4 separate regions of the Homo sapiens genome follow, and regions 1, 2 and 3 are each linked to region 4. The links are contacts of gene promoters, found by promoter capture Hi-C in blood cells and fetal thymus (Javierre and others, 2016). All regions are on one chromosome and are shown on one strand. Each heading gives the region's core, a stretch centred on a gene start or on the middle of the fragment in contact. The rest is flanking DNA. Distances are from core to core; before and after follow the strand shown. Region 1 overlaps MIA3 (MIA SH3 domain ER export factor 3). Region 2 overlaps MIA3 (MIA SH3 domain ER export factor 3). Region 3 holds the start of LBR (lamin B receptor). Region 4 holds the start of TP53BP2 (tumor protein p53 binding protein 2).

What was found. The method cuts DNA at HindIII sites, captures the fragments that hold promoters and counts their contacts. A CHiCAGO score of 5 or more calls a contact.
Region 1: a contact is called between a fragment that was not itself captured here and the fragment with the promoter of TP53BP2 in region 4, in 1 of 17 cell types (fetal thymus). The highest score is 7.8, in fetal thymus.
Region 2: a contact is called between a fragment that was not itself captured here and the fragment with the promoter of TP53BP2 in region 4, in 5 of 17 cell types (fetal thymus, naive CD4 T cells, total CD4 T cells and 2 more). The highest score is 11.2, in fetal thymus.
Region 3: a contact is called between a fragment that was not itself captured here and the fragment with the promoter of TP53BP2 in region 4, in 1 of 17 cell types (fetal thymus). The highest score is 7.1, in fetal thymus.

What each region holds. Positions count from the first base shown.
Region 1 is chr1:222,619,671-222,622,931 of GRCh38, forward strand. MIA3 (MIA SH3 domain ER export factor 3) reads left to right here. Exons shown (of 28, transcript NM_198551.4): 2 at 1,489-1,622. Among named protein-coding and RNA genes, the nearest start is that of MIA3, 3.2 kb to the left of the region's middle. The HindIII fragment of the contact is 873 bases long and covers 1,121-1,993 here.
Region 2 is chr1:222,644,641-222,647,703 of GRCh38, forward strand. MIA3 (MIA SH3 domain ER export factor 3) reads left to right here. Exons shown (of 28, transcript NM_198551.4): 7 at 914-1,045. Among named protein-coding and RNA genes, the nearest start is that of MIA3, 28 kb to the left of the region's middle. RefSeq lists enhancers at 1-416, 17-96. The HindIII fragment of the contact is 1,853 bases long and covers 865-2,717 here.
Region 3 is chr1:225,425,880-225,429,078 of GRCh38, forward strand. It overlaps LBR (lamin B receptor), which reads right to left and starts at 2,159. Exons shown (of 14, transcript NM_002296.4): 1 at 2,075-2,159. RefSeq lists enhancers at 569-1,241, 1,242-1,913 and a silencer at 1,746-2,575. The HindIII fragment of the contact is 2,832 bases long and covers 197-3,028 here.
Region 4 is chr1:223,844,353-223,847,561 of GRCh38, forward strand. It overlaps TP53BP2 (tumor protein p53 binding protein 2), which reads right to left and starts at 1,595. Exons shown (of 18, transcript NM_001031685.3): 1 at 1,302-1,595. The coding sequence starts at 1,328. RefSeq lists a silencer at 1,423-1,732. The HindIII fragment of the contact is 2,144 bases long and covers 435-2,578 here.

The sequences.
Region 1 (3,261 bases), core at 307-2,806, 1.2 Mb before region 4:
TCCTCAAAACAGGTTACCTGGAGAATCATCACATCACTGATGCTTCTTCAGTACTGAGGCATGATGTTAGAAGAGCTCACGGTTGTAACATAACTTGAGAAATGGTACGTGTTCAGAGGAAACCAAATACAATAGGCATCAACAGGAGCAAGGTCTAGATGGGTCTGTGTTGTGTTGTAGAAAGTGTTTAGTAATGTGAGTATGTACGGTGCCCTTGTGTGGTTTTCAAATAGCTGTTCCACAGGGTGCATTTTGTTGGCATCTCAAATATTATTATAAATCCTCTATGATCTATTGTAAGGGGGAGCAAAAGAAACATTGCCATTTTCAATTCTGATCTTATTCCCAACCTTAAATTGTCCATCATCTTAAACCTGGCCTCACACTCAATTATATCTGAGCTACAAAGCTGACATGTTGGAAAGTAATCAGAGTTTAGCTTCAAAAAACAAGTAGCCCCTTCCAAATCTATATGCGTGTATAGCCATTTAAAGGCACGTTTTTAATGTATTTTATTGCAAATTGGCTTTTGGAAAAAATCTTATTTCTATTCGTCCTTCTTTGTCTCTGCTATTTAGATGTATTTATTGTCCATTTCATCTTACATGGGAAACTGTGTATGTGGTCAACAAAAATAAAAGTACTGCTTCAGCCAGTTTCTAGATCAAGCGTGATTGAATTACTGACCTATTCTCATAGTTTTGCTTAGTCCCAGCCAAATGAGATGTCGACTTTTGATTTTGTTTATAGAAAAATATACATAAGGGTATTCTTTCCTTTGTTTTGAAACTTAATTTTGGATACAGTCAACATTATTTACTTTCAGAAAATATTGCCTTGTGATGTAATTGAATCTATAGTAGGGTGTGATAGATATCTTTTCCCATTAATTTATCCAGACACTGTACTAAGGGAACAACTTGGCTGCAAATGAAATTGACAGTGTTTACTGCTACATAGTACTGGTTACAGTCACTTGAAGATAGACCCTTTTAGTGGTTAGTTCAAGTTAATTGACCTCTTGGGGGTTCCTGGGTACTCTAGTTCCCTATTACCCGTTCATGTAGCCATGCTTAAGTTAATCATCATCTGGGCTTGAATTTACCCATTTGCAAAAGGAAGCTTTTTATGAATATGAAACAGAAAAGATTGAGGACTAGAAGGTTAGAGAGGGAATCGAGAGTTTCACTTGGGTGAGAAAAGCCATGTGTGGTAGTTGGCACATTGCTTTTTGTTTCTCAGTATTATCCATAGAGAAAAATAGAGAAGGTTTTCCTTTCCCTTGTCTGCTTGCAGAAGGTATGATTTATAGCAGTAAAGCTCAAAGGATTTGAGATACTTTGAGCATATGAAAGAAATTCCAGAGAGTACTGGAAAAACTTGGTTGTTGTTTATAGTGGGATTCTTATATTTCCTGATAAATCAATATGCACTGTGAACACTGAATCCTGATATCTGGCTATTTTTTTTCTCTCTCTTTATATACAGTGTTAATGTACCGCGGTGAGGCTCTTGAAGATTTCACAGGCCCGGATTGTCGTTTTGTGAATTTTAAAAAAGGTGATCCTGTATATGTTTACTATAAACTGGCAAGAGGATGGCCTGAAGTTTGGGCTGGAAGTGTAAGTAAAATATCGACATACTTTATTTGCTTAATTTTTATTGGCTTCTTTAGCACTGTAGAGTTAAATGACTGCATTTTCTTGGGACCTTTGATGGAGTTAACTTGTCCTCTCTGCCTGACTGTGAAAAAAGATGGCCCTGTGTCCCCAGCAGGCCTTGGGTCTGCACAGAGTAGGGGCTCAGCAGAGCCTTCTGAAATAGAACTGATTCTGGCAAGTTCCCCTCAGGGTCAACCTCTAGGATGCTGCATACGTATTAGAGGTTGAAATGGTAAGAGCTGAAAAATACTTCATTGCTTTAAAAAGGAAGTATTCATAGGAATTAGACTTACTCCTGTAAACTATATGTGAGAGAGTGTTTCAGGCATGTAAGCTTAAAGTTGATTTTATGTGTATTTCTTTGTTTATATTATTATTTATGAAAAAGTGGCAGTCTTGGGAACAGTTCCCTAATCATCTGTGCTATTATAAGTCTGTAAAAAAGCAAAATGTTGTTTCTCGTGTGCTTTCTTGTTTGTTTGTTTTTTTTTTTTTGAGGCGGAGTCTTGCTCTGTCGCCCAGGCTGGAGTGCCGTGGCGCGATCTCGGCTCACTGCAAGCTCCGCCTCCCGGGTTCACGCCATTCTCCTGCCTCAGCCTCCCGAGTAGCTGGGGCTGCAGGTGCCTGCCACCACACGGCTAATTTTTTGTATTTTTTTAGTAGAGACGGGGTTTCACTGTGTTAGCTAGGTCTCGATCTCCTGACCTTGTGATCCACCCACCTTGACCTCCCAAAGTGCTGGGATTACAGGCGTGAGCCACCGCAACCAGCCTCTTGTTTGTATTTTTGTTTGCAGCCTTGGGGTCATCCTTGTCCTGCTTTTCAGACACTTGTGTCTGGAGGTTACCCCAGGGGATTGATTCCCAGCTGATTTTATGGGTACCCTGCTATCAGACCTGGCAATCAATGACTGCATCATGCTTTGGTATTTTTAATGAGGAGATTCACTGGGAGTGACCTGATTGAGAGGCCTGTCTTATGAGTTATTGTCCTTTCCTTTTTAGAAAGCGTGATATGTGGACTGTGTCTTTACTTCAAGTAGTAAGGGTCCTCGATATCTTTAGGATTGTCCCAACTTAGAGAAATACCCATCCCGACTATGAAAGTTTTCACTGTCAGTAAAACACCAAACAAACAAAGAGAAAATAAGGCTTGAGAAATCCCCTTGGGGAAAATAGACTGATTTTGTTGGCATTCCAGGTTCCTAGGGAGTAATCTTGGGAAACAACAACTGGTCAGGTTCAGCTCTCCTATTTAGAGAGCATCCCAAGTGACTTGCTCCATACCAAAACAAATCTATTCTATTTCCTTCAAGTCTACCTAATGAGATTTGTTGATAATCTTTACTCTTGGAAATGTTTTTCCATGTACCTAGGCTGCGTTTTTTCATAGAAAAGTTAAGTTTTTTTTTCCACTCCTCATCTTTGAGCATTTGGATGAATGAACTTGACTTAACATTTTCCTCCCACTGCAGTTTTGCTCATTCACGTCTTCATCTCTGGATGTCCTGTCAGTCTTTCTGGGTCACACCTCTCATCCTGCCTTCTTAAGGAACGCTGCCTTCAGCACCCAGCCAGAAGGGATCTTTGCTGCCTGATGA
Region 2 (3,063 bases), core at 541-3,040, 1.2 Mb before region 4:
GTTCTAAGCAGAGTGGGTGCACTGATTGTCTGTGCAAAGGAGAAATGGAGTGTGTCAGATCCGAGGAAAGCAAGACGTTTCTATGCTGTTTAGGGAGGCAGGTGGGAGTGTGTTTGAGAAGGTTTCGTCACTCTTTTTTTTTTTTTTATTGAGTACTTACGAAGTGACAGCACTTTATGTTCTGGTGTGAAGTCATGATCAAAACACAGAGAACCTACAGGTCTTTTCTGCATAACCCCCGGCTCTGTTGTGGGATGGGACCAGTGTGATAGTGTACTTGTAAAGGGCTGTGGAAACAGCATAGAGCAGACAGGTGTTTAATGCACTGTTTTCAAGGAAACATTTAGAATTAAGGCACTAAATTCAAAGCGGTTTATCTAGATCAGTTATCAGGAGCTATCCGAACTTAGTCAGCATTTGTTCTTTGTTTATGTAAGTCGATTTAAGATTTTAAATCTTAGAGGAATAAAACGTTATTTGTGATATTCATTATCATCATATTGGTTTTATTTGCAGCCATAAAAAGTTAGTTACTTGTATATAAAAGGTTTTTTGTCTTATGTGGTTTTTTAAGCAATAAAAACCAATTTATTCAAGACAAAAGTATGATGCAGAGAGATTCCAGCCATGTTTTAGATAACATATTGTATCAGGGCCTATTGAAACTAGAAATATATGCCCAACCTAAAGACATTTAGAGTCATAGTACTTCAAAACACCACAGGCCAAACAATAAGTATGAGACTCCCAGTATCCTGTTTTTCTTAAAGCAGTGAGAGCTACTGAAGATTTTTGAGGGGATAGGTATCTGATAGAGTTGGTTTAGAATTTCTGTGAATGAGTCTTTGTGACTGCTTTATGGTAAGCTTCTTTAAGGTTTCTCATTATTTCTAACATTATTTCTAACATTCAGCTAGTTGCTACATTGCCTGATGATGTTCAGCCTGGGCCTGATTTTTATGGACTGCCATGGAAACCTGTATTTATCACTGCCTTCTTGGGAATTGCTTCGTTTGCCATTTTCTTATGGAGAACTGTCCTTGTTGTGAGTAAATTAATGCATACTTTAACTCATAAATTCAAGTATGGTTTTATAATCACAGTCCTTTTGTTTCTTTTTCAGTTTCTAATATGAACAGAAATTAATGCTTTTAATTCAAGCTAACCTTGTAAAATAATTTAGTATAATTTTTGTGTTGGTAAATTCTTAAGTGAATAAGACAACATGTATAATCTCAGTGGGAAAACTTCAGTTTATATGTCTCATATCAAAGTCTAAATTTTAAGAATTAGGTGGGTCTGTATTTCAACTCACAAAGGATGAAAAGAAAGAATTAGATAGGTCATATGTACACTGTTAGTAGAACTAGGAATTCTTAGAGCCATCCTGAAAAATAGTTTCATGATGTGTATGATAAGCCTTAAAAATGGTTATATCCTTTTATATTGTATTAATGTCATGTCTAGTAATCGATCCTAAAGAAATAACCAGTCAGCCGGCACAGTGGCTCACACCTGTAATCCCAGCACTTTGAGAGTCCGAGGCAGGCGGATCACTTGAGGCCAGGAGTTCGAGACCAGCTTAGCCAACATGATGAAACCCCATCTCTTCTAAAAATACGAAAATTAGCCAGGTGTTGTGGCACATGCCTGTAATCCCAGCTACTCGGGATGCTGAGGCAGAGAATCGCTTGAACCTGGGAGGCGGAGGCTGCAGTGAGCTGAGATGTGCCACTGCACTCCAGCCTGGGTGACAGAGTGAGACTCCATCTCAAAAAAAAAAAAAAAGAAAGAAAGAAATAACCAATCATGCATTAAATATCTTACATGGCCGGGCGTGGTGGCTCACACCTGTAATACCAGCACTTTGGGAGGCGGAGGCGGGTGGATCACATAAGGCCAGGAGTTTGAGACCAGCCTGACCAACAAGACAAAACCCCATCTCTACTAAAAATACAAAACTTAGCCGGGGGTGGTGGCAGGAGCCTGTAATCCCAGCTACTTGGGAGGCTGAGGCAGGAGAATCGCTTGAACTGGGGAAGCAGATCATGCCACTGCACTCCAGCCTAGGCGACAAAGTGAGACTCTGTCTCAAAAAAAAGTTTTAAATATCTTACATGAGAGCATTCAGTAGAACAGTATTTATTAGAGTGAAAACTTTGACACAACCTACTGTGATTCACAGTGGGAAAATTGTTAAATTATTGTATGTTCATATAATGGGATATTAGGCTGCTTTATATAATTCAAAGACATAGGAGCACAACAAATACTCACAATTTAACATGAAGTAGAAAAAAAGTAGAAACCAAGACTTTAAGGTATAGATAAACTGTATATTACATAAACATACACACAGAAAATAAATGCTGCAAGGAAATACAATAAAATGATAAAAATTCTTATATCTAGGAGATGAGGTAAGTTTTCAGTTTTTAAAAAATGTGTATTTTCCAGATTTTCTGATTTCATCATGTACTATTTTACTCAGAAAATATCTTTTTATTTCGAAATGCAAATTATATCATGTGTAAAGACACACCGTTAATTTTTTTATCTTCTGTGCAGAATTTGCCTTTCAGACTTAAACATGTTTGTATAAGTGTGTATACTCATACTTGTACATCCTTATGATTATACTATATAGCATTCAGCTGCATAGTTATTTAACATAATTGGGAGAAGATTATTTGTGTAAATGAGCTTTGCAGATGAAAAGCTTTGTATTGAAACTTCACAGTTAAAATGGCCAAAATTATTGGATGCAAATCTTTCTAAAACTGAGTACTCTTTTTCTGATTTCATAATTATATCACATATATCATCATTAATAAATTTTCTCTCACAATTGATTGTAAAATTACTTAAAAAGAAGGGTCTTTTTTCCTGTGAGGCCTTCTCTAACCTCCTGGTGCTTTTCTTCAGATAAAAAGGGAGAATCAAAGGGTAAATGGAAGGGGAAAAGTTGAAAACATTTTACATTTCCCACTCTTGTTTCTCCTATTTGTTAATAAAAAAATTCTAACGCCTTTTTCGTTTTTCAGAAAGTTATATAGGCTCTGT
Region 3 (3,199 bases), core at 363-2,862, 1.6 Mb after region 4:
TTGAGGTTTTAAAAGACCCTTGAACAGTTTCTGCGTGTTCTTAAAAACTTATTTACTGGCATCTTTCCATTGCACTTACACACCACATACACAGTATCTGTGTAATATAAACGCAGGCCAGTGCCAAAAAGATTCTTATCAATTATTCTGGGTTAAACAAGTTAACACATATGGTGGATACCTGTTAGGTCTCTAAAGCTTACTTTTTAAAAGAAGAATTAAGATTTGCTTGAAAAACAAACAAAATGAACCGGCATTCTTCTTAGAAGACCATTATCTTATACACAAATGTTCCAAAAGATGAAGCCAACAACATGATGTGCACCCCCACTTTACACAAGATCCACACACAATTGTCAAACGTGAGGATACAGTGCAATCACATCCTAATATATTCCCCCACAGGAGTGAAATAGCCAGGATGGCACACAAAAGCCCCACATTTGTTCGTGTCACTCACTATGCACTCACCTACAGGAGTCAAGATACACACAGGATTTTCTTACAAGAGATGTTTTAGGCAAGTGTGTTTGTAAAGAAAAATTTTGTTCACTGCACCCAATGTCCTCATTCGCCATAAACAGGAAAAACACGGAGACCCTCAGGTTTTTCTCTATTAAGCCAGATGCCCGCTAACTTCAGAGTCAACTGGCACTGCAATCCTCACACATTCCAGCTCCGGTATGTTACTGTTTGTGAACACAACAATTCTCTGCTCATTAACATTACAGGGGTCTCCAGCCATCTTTCCTTCACTTCTCCAAATTCATCTAAACGTGGCATAGAGCAAGACGCTCGAATGACGTTGGACAGCTTCCTTTTCACACCTGAGCCCCGGTAGCCCCACTAGGCAAAATGCAAACAGGAACCCCGGGCCTTGCTCCGCGCCCTTTGCTTCATGAAGCAACAGAAAGGCCACCTTCCTGGCTGTAAAGGCAGAAGCGCCTTCTTCCCCATAAACATCCTTGGGCAGCTCATCATTCCCCTCCTGCTCGTTCTTCTCCCTCTTCCCAGGCAGCCTGAGAAACAAAACTTAAACTGGACTTGTTGCCTAATCTAAATTAGGATCCCTCTGCTCTTCTCCGTAGCTCCATCTTCTCCCACACACCAGTTACTACAATGCGTAACTACAGATCTACACGTGTTTACGTGCAAGGTCCCCGGGGGCCTGTTCACCCTGGCACTGCCCAGGCGCCGCGCCTCGCGCTGCAGGTGTCCACGCGCGGACCACGGTATCTACCGCGCCCTCGTGTGAACACCCGACCGGGCCCCGTAATCACTCTGGGAAAGCGCCTTCAACAAAGCCCTCCGAAAGCAAGTGCTTTACTAAGTGCCCCTTGAGGCTACTGGCAGTGCGAGGCTGGCTGTCATTAGAACATTTTTCTGAACCCTCAAAAAGGTGAAAAAGCAGGACCGTGCTTTAGCAGGAACACGCACACCCGCCTAAATACCCGATTTTTGAGACTGTCCGGGCGAAGGAATTCAACGCATAGGAGCGAGCAGCCATGCAGTGTGCCTGGAGAATCACCAAACCGCGACGACCACGACCCTCAAAGCCAGTGACAAGCAGCGCGAATCTAAGCCCACCTCGGCCGCAGACCCTTCCCCGTCCCGCCAGGCCGCCGCGCCCTGTCAGCCTCCTACTGCAGGACCGCGGGGCCGCCTGCTCATCTGTCAGACGGGCGCTCGGAGGGGCCGGGAGCCAGGCTGCGGTGGGGCAGGACAAAGGCGCCCACGAACCCTCCCTGCCGCCGCCGCTCCACAGCCGCGCCGCGCCGCCAACATGGAGGGAAACGTCCGCAGTTTAAAACCCCCAGCTCCATTTCCGCAGCGGGCCCGGCTCGGGCGAGCTCCAGCCTCGCCCGCCGCCGCCCCGACCACCCGACTGGGCCAGAAAAGGCGAGGAGGGGAGGAGACGAGGAGGCGAGGAGAGGAGGGGAAGGCCGCCGCGCCAGGCCCCGCGCCCAGGGTCCCCGGCCCGGCCGCTGCGCCGGCCTCGGGCTTCCTCCCCCAGCGGCCCCTCGAAGAACGCGCCGCGGGGAGCTGGGAGCAGGGCGGGGGTGGAAGCACTCACCTGCGCCAGGTTCCGGCGGTGACACGGACGGCTCCCGGAGAATAGTCGCACAGCAACCCGGCGGCAGATCCACGCGCGCGACGCTACCCGGCCGCGCTCTCGCGCCCCGCAGTCCCGCAAGCCGGGCGCGCGCCTCCCCGGCCCCGCCTCGCGGCGCTTCTCCCCTCCCCTCGCCTCCCCTCCCCACCGGCGAGGCCGCCCGGGGCTCCCATTGGCTCCTCGACCTTTTGAATCATCCCCGGCGCTGTCGATTGGTCGCGCGCCGTGGCGCGTCCGCCCCGCCCCACCCTGCCTGGGGGCGGGGAGGCCGGTGAGCGGGGGAAACCGAGTCTGGCGGGGCGGCCCGGAGCGCGACGTTTGCCACCGCCTTATCTCAGCCGCCCAGGCGCCCTCGCAGCACACGGAGCCCGCGCGCTCCCGCCCTTTCCCTCCCAGCGCTCGCAGCAGTGTTTGGGGTGCCAGGTGGCTTGGCGAACGAGATTTTTTTTTAAGCTACAAAGAAAACTAATACATTCTTGAAGTGATCACCAAAGATCCGAGCTCGAAAGCGTTTCTCGGTAAAACACTATGAGTGCCCTCCTTAGCGTGTTAAAATCCCACAGAAGCCCCTGGACCAAGCAGCGGCATCGAAGGCGAGCAGGGGCGCTTTTGTGTCCGCGGCCGCTGAACCTGCGTAGAAGCGAACCCGGACCGATGCTGGGACCGGCGGCGGGAGGGAGGGGGAAGAATGGCCGAGGGCTCCTACGACTTACGCTGCGAGGAGGGGCTCGGTTGTTACCCGAGATGCTGTCGAGATGCAGTAGAAAATCCCCAACACCGCGGAGCGTGGAACAAGAAGTTTTATGCGTTACACACCGAAACACAACTTGACCTGCAACCTACAAGCCTGGTTTTAATTGAACCCCAAAATGCTGAGTCATGTCATTGTTGACTCCGAATCTGTTACGGATCCTAAGCTTTTTTTTTTCTGCTAGTTTTCATTATCGGTTAGTTGATTTCCTTCCTTTGAGGTCGAGAGTTTAAAGCAGTCCATTGAAGTTCCCTATTTTGCAGTGTGGTTTTAATCAAAGTATTTCTTAACACCCTAACTAGGTATATTTAAGTGAATTGCTATTTTGGAAGCAT
Region 4 (3,209 bases), core at 345-2,844:
CAACTGATACGTGTTTCTCTTGCTCCTACTGTTAGGAAAAATTCACAGACAATCCGTACAAGTTACTTCAACACAAAGAAATGTAAATCCAGGAAATAAAAATCTTAACAGCAAAATCCATCACCCTTATCTATGGTCCATTATTTCAATATTGGGTATTCACACTACAAACCTGATTTCATAACCAGGCATTAAACTAAAATAAGATGCATAATGCTATTAATACTTTCAAATTCCTTGAATCCTGGCAGGACAAAATATCCCAAACCCTCTAAACCCAATTACTAATTCTAGTGAATTGTTAAGTCGACCCAGTGAGAGTTTGGGACGCCCTCCATGACACAAGCAGGGGGCCAGGGAACAGCATATTATACTCTGTATGTATGACTGCAAACTTTGTCATCACTCCATTCCACAGACTTCATAAAAGTAAAAGCTTTTTGTTTCTTTGTCTGAACAAATGGAGCCACAAGCATAGGATGCCTGCAAGATGTCCCCACTTCAGTGGGAGAGGTGCAAATACAACTTCCACGAAGAAACTCGCTACTGAAGTCTGCAGAAGCCACCGCAACACACCGCAAACCTCCATTCCGCGATCGCTGAATGACAGAGACATTTCTGAAATGTCTCAAACCTGCTGTTCATCTGTGGCCTGGTGGCCGTGTCAAAAGCCTGCGGAGCTCCTAAAGAAGGCACTAATCCTCTCCGGAGGTCTTGCTAAAAGCTGTGGGAAACGAAGGGAGCCAGGCACGTACGCTTTCCTGCAATCTAAAACTTCCGAGATTGCATTTACCAAAACCCCTTTCCACAAAGAGGTAAGGGTGACTTAGCTGCTACTGTGGATATCAAGATCGAAATTCAATTAAAAACAAAGCAAAGGTACCCGTTCCAGTAACGTATGTTTCACTCCAGTAAAAAGTAAAAAGACACAGCAAAGAACAAGGTCCCCGGTTCCCGTATTCTTGACCTTCAAGAACTGCAAAAAAGTCAAGACCCAGTGAAAGACGAAAAGTTTGAGTGGCTGCTGGGCTCGCGGGCGGCTCGCCTGACTCCGGAGCAGCTGGAGGAACCCGCCTCGAGGTTAGGGTCTCGCCGCGCCCCCACGACGGCTGTGGGCGCAGAGCCCAGAGGATGGAGCCTCCCCTTCCTGAAACCCGCTCGAAGCTCGGAAAGCCCCGGCCCCTCCGCGCGGGCTGCGGCCCCCAGGCTCCTTCCCCGACGCGCCCGAGGGCGCGGACCAGCCCCCGGCACGCGACCCCGCACACTTCCGGGCCCGACGCCCTGGCCGCTCGCCCACTTACCGGCATCATCTTGGACCCGAACCGCATGGAAGCGGGTGGCCAGACTGCGGCCCCGGCCGAGCTGAGGTGCCCCGGAGGGTCGCGGATGCGGGGGAGGGGAGCGGAGAGCGAGGCCGCCCGGACCTGTTGCGAGGCGGCGGCGGCGGCAGCGGCGGCGCGCGGGTCCGAAGGGCCCTCCGCGCGGGCTGGGGCACCAACAAGCCCCGGGCTCCCCCGCCCCGGCCGGGCCCCCTGACGCGGCTTTGTCTCTTCGACGCTCGTGACGGTCGGGGCTCCCTCCTCCGCTCCGAAACCAACTAATCCCGGGTCGGGCCCCAGCCGAGCCCGTGCCGGCTCCGCCCCCCGCGCCGACCCCGCCCGCGGCGCGCCCGGCGGCCTGGGGGAGGGGCGGCCGCGGGAACGGGAGCTGCGCGCGCCTGCGCGGGCCCGGCTGGGTAGACGGGGAGCGGCGGGAGCCGGCCGCCTTTTCTTTCTTCGCCCCGGACTGAAGTGCGGTCGGGGCCGCGCGGCGGAGCGGCTGGAGCGCGCGCCTCCTAGCGGAGCCGGGGCAATTGGAAGGCCGCGCCTCAGGAAAACAGGATGGTAGTGAATGGCACCGAGCCGCCCCAGGGCTGCCGCCGTCACCTCCTCGGCGGCTCCGAGTCGTGCGAGGCAGGGGACCCTTTGCCTTCAGAACAGGGCGCCCGACGTTGGGCGCGTGGACAGAGTCCTCCGGCGGCCGCGCCGCTGGGCCAGGCGGAGAGAGGCGGACGGACTTCAGGGGAGGCCCGGGCCACGCCGCGGAAACTACCCGACTCCCTGGAGGCGGCCAGGACCGACCCTGTCCCGACAAAATGGAGTTCCCCGTGTGGCTTCAGCTCGCGGCGCGTTCCCAGAGCTCCTCAGTGATCCGGCTTTCGGATTGTTCGCCTTTCATCTCATTTGCCGTTGTCCAAATTCTAATTTAAAACTCATGTGTTACTTGCTGTAAGGTTAACAAACGTACACCGCAAACTGGATAAAGGGATAACTTTTATGTTGTGTATGTTTTACCACAATAAAAATAAATTTTGTAAAAATGTGTCAGGCAGCATTCTGAGGAGCTTCCCTGGGGGGTGCTGGGAACACCCTGCAAACAGCCTCCGATACGGGGAGCCGGTGGATACCATCCTTTTCCAGGGAGGGAGGCCAAGGCCTAGGGAAATGGCAGGGCTGCCTTCCAAAGAGTAGCAGAGCGGGTTCAGGCTTTTATTCCACCTTCCAGAGAGACACATACTGCGGGAACCCTAACTCCAGGAAGCTTTGTTCTAGTAAGTTGTCAGTGCAAGTTCACTCAGAATCACTTTTCTCTGCCTTTATACATGATTCTAGAACCTGAAGTGGGGTAAATCCCCTGGGTTTATCTAGTATCAAGAACAGACAATTCTTTCTTAGCCCACCATATCCCTTACCAGAATCTCCATCGAACTCCCTATTGCACCATCCCAGATACTGTATCTGGAAATACTAAATTACGGTTAATTCAACTAGAATTTAACGTTCTCGCCCGGGCGCAGTGGCTCACGCCTGTAATCCCAGCACTTTGGGAGGCCGAGGCGGGCAGATCACCTGAGGTCAGGAGTTCGAGACCAGCCTGGCCACGTGGTGAAACCCTTGTCTCTACTAAAAATATAAAAATTAGCCGGGCATGGTGGCGCATGCCTGTAATGCCAGCTACTCGGGAGGCTGAGGCAGGAGAATCTCTTGAACCTGGGAAGCGGAGGTTGCAATGAGCAGAGATCACCCCACTGCACTTCAGCCTGGGCAACGAGAGTGAAACTCCATCTGAAAAAAAAAAAAAGAATTTAACGTTCTCAAAAAATCTGGTTTATAGTCTTGTTTTCTTAAGAGGGTTATACTGAGTTAAGCAAAATAAATTCATCCCTCATT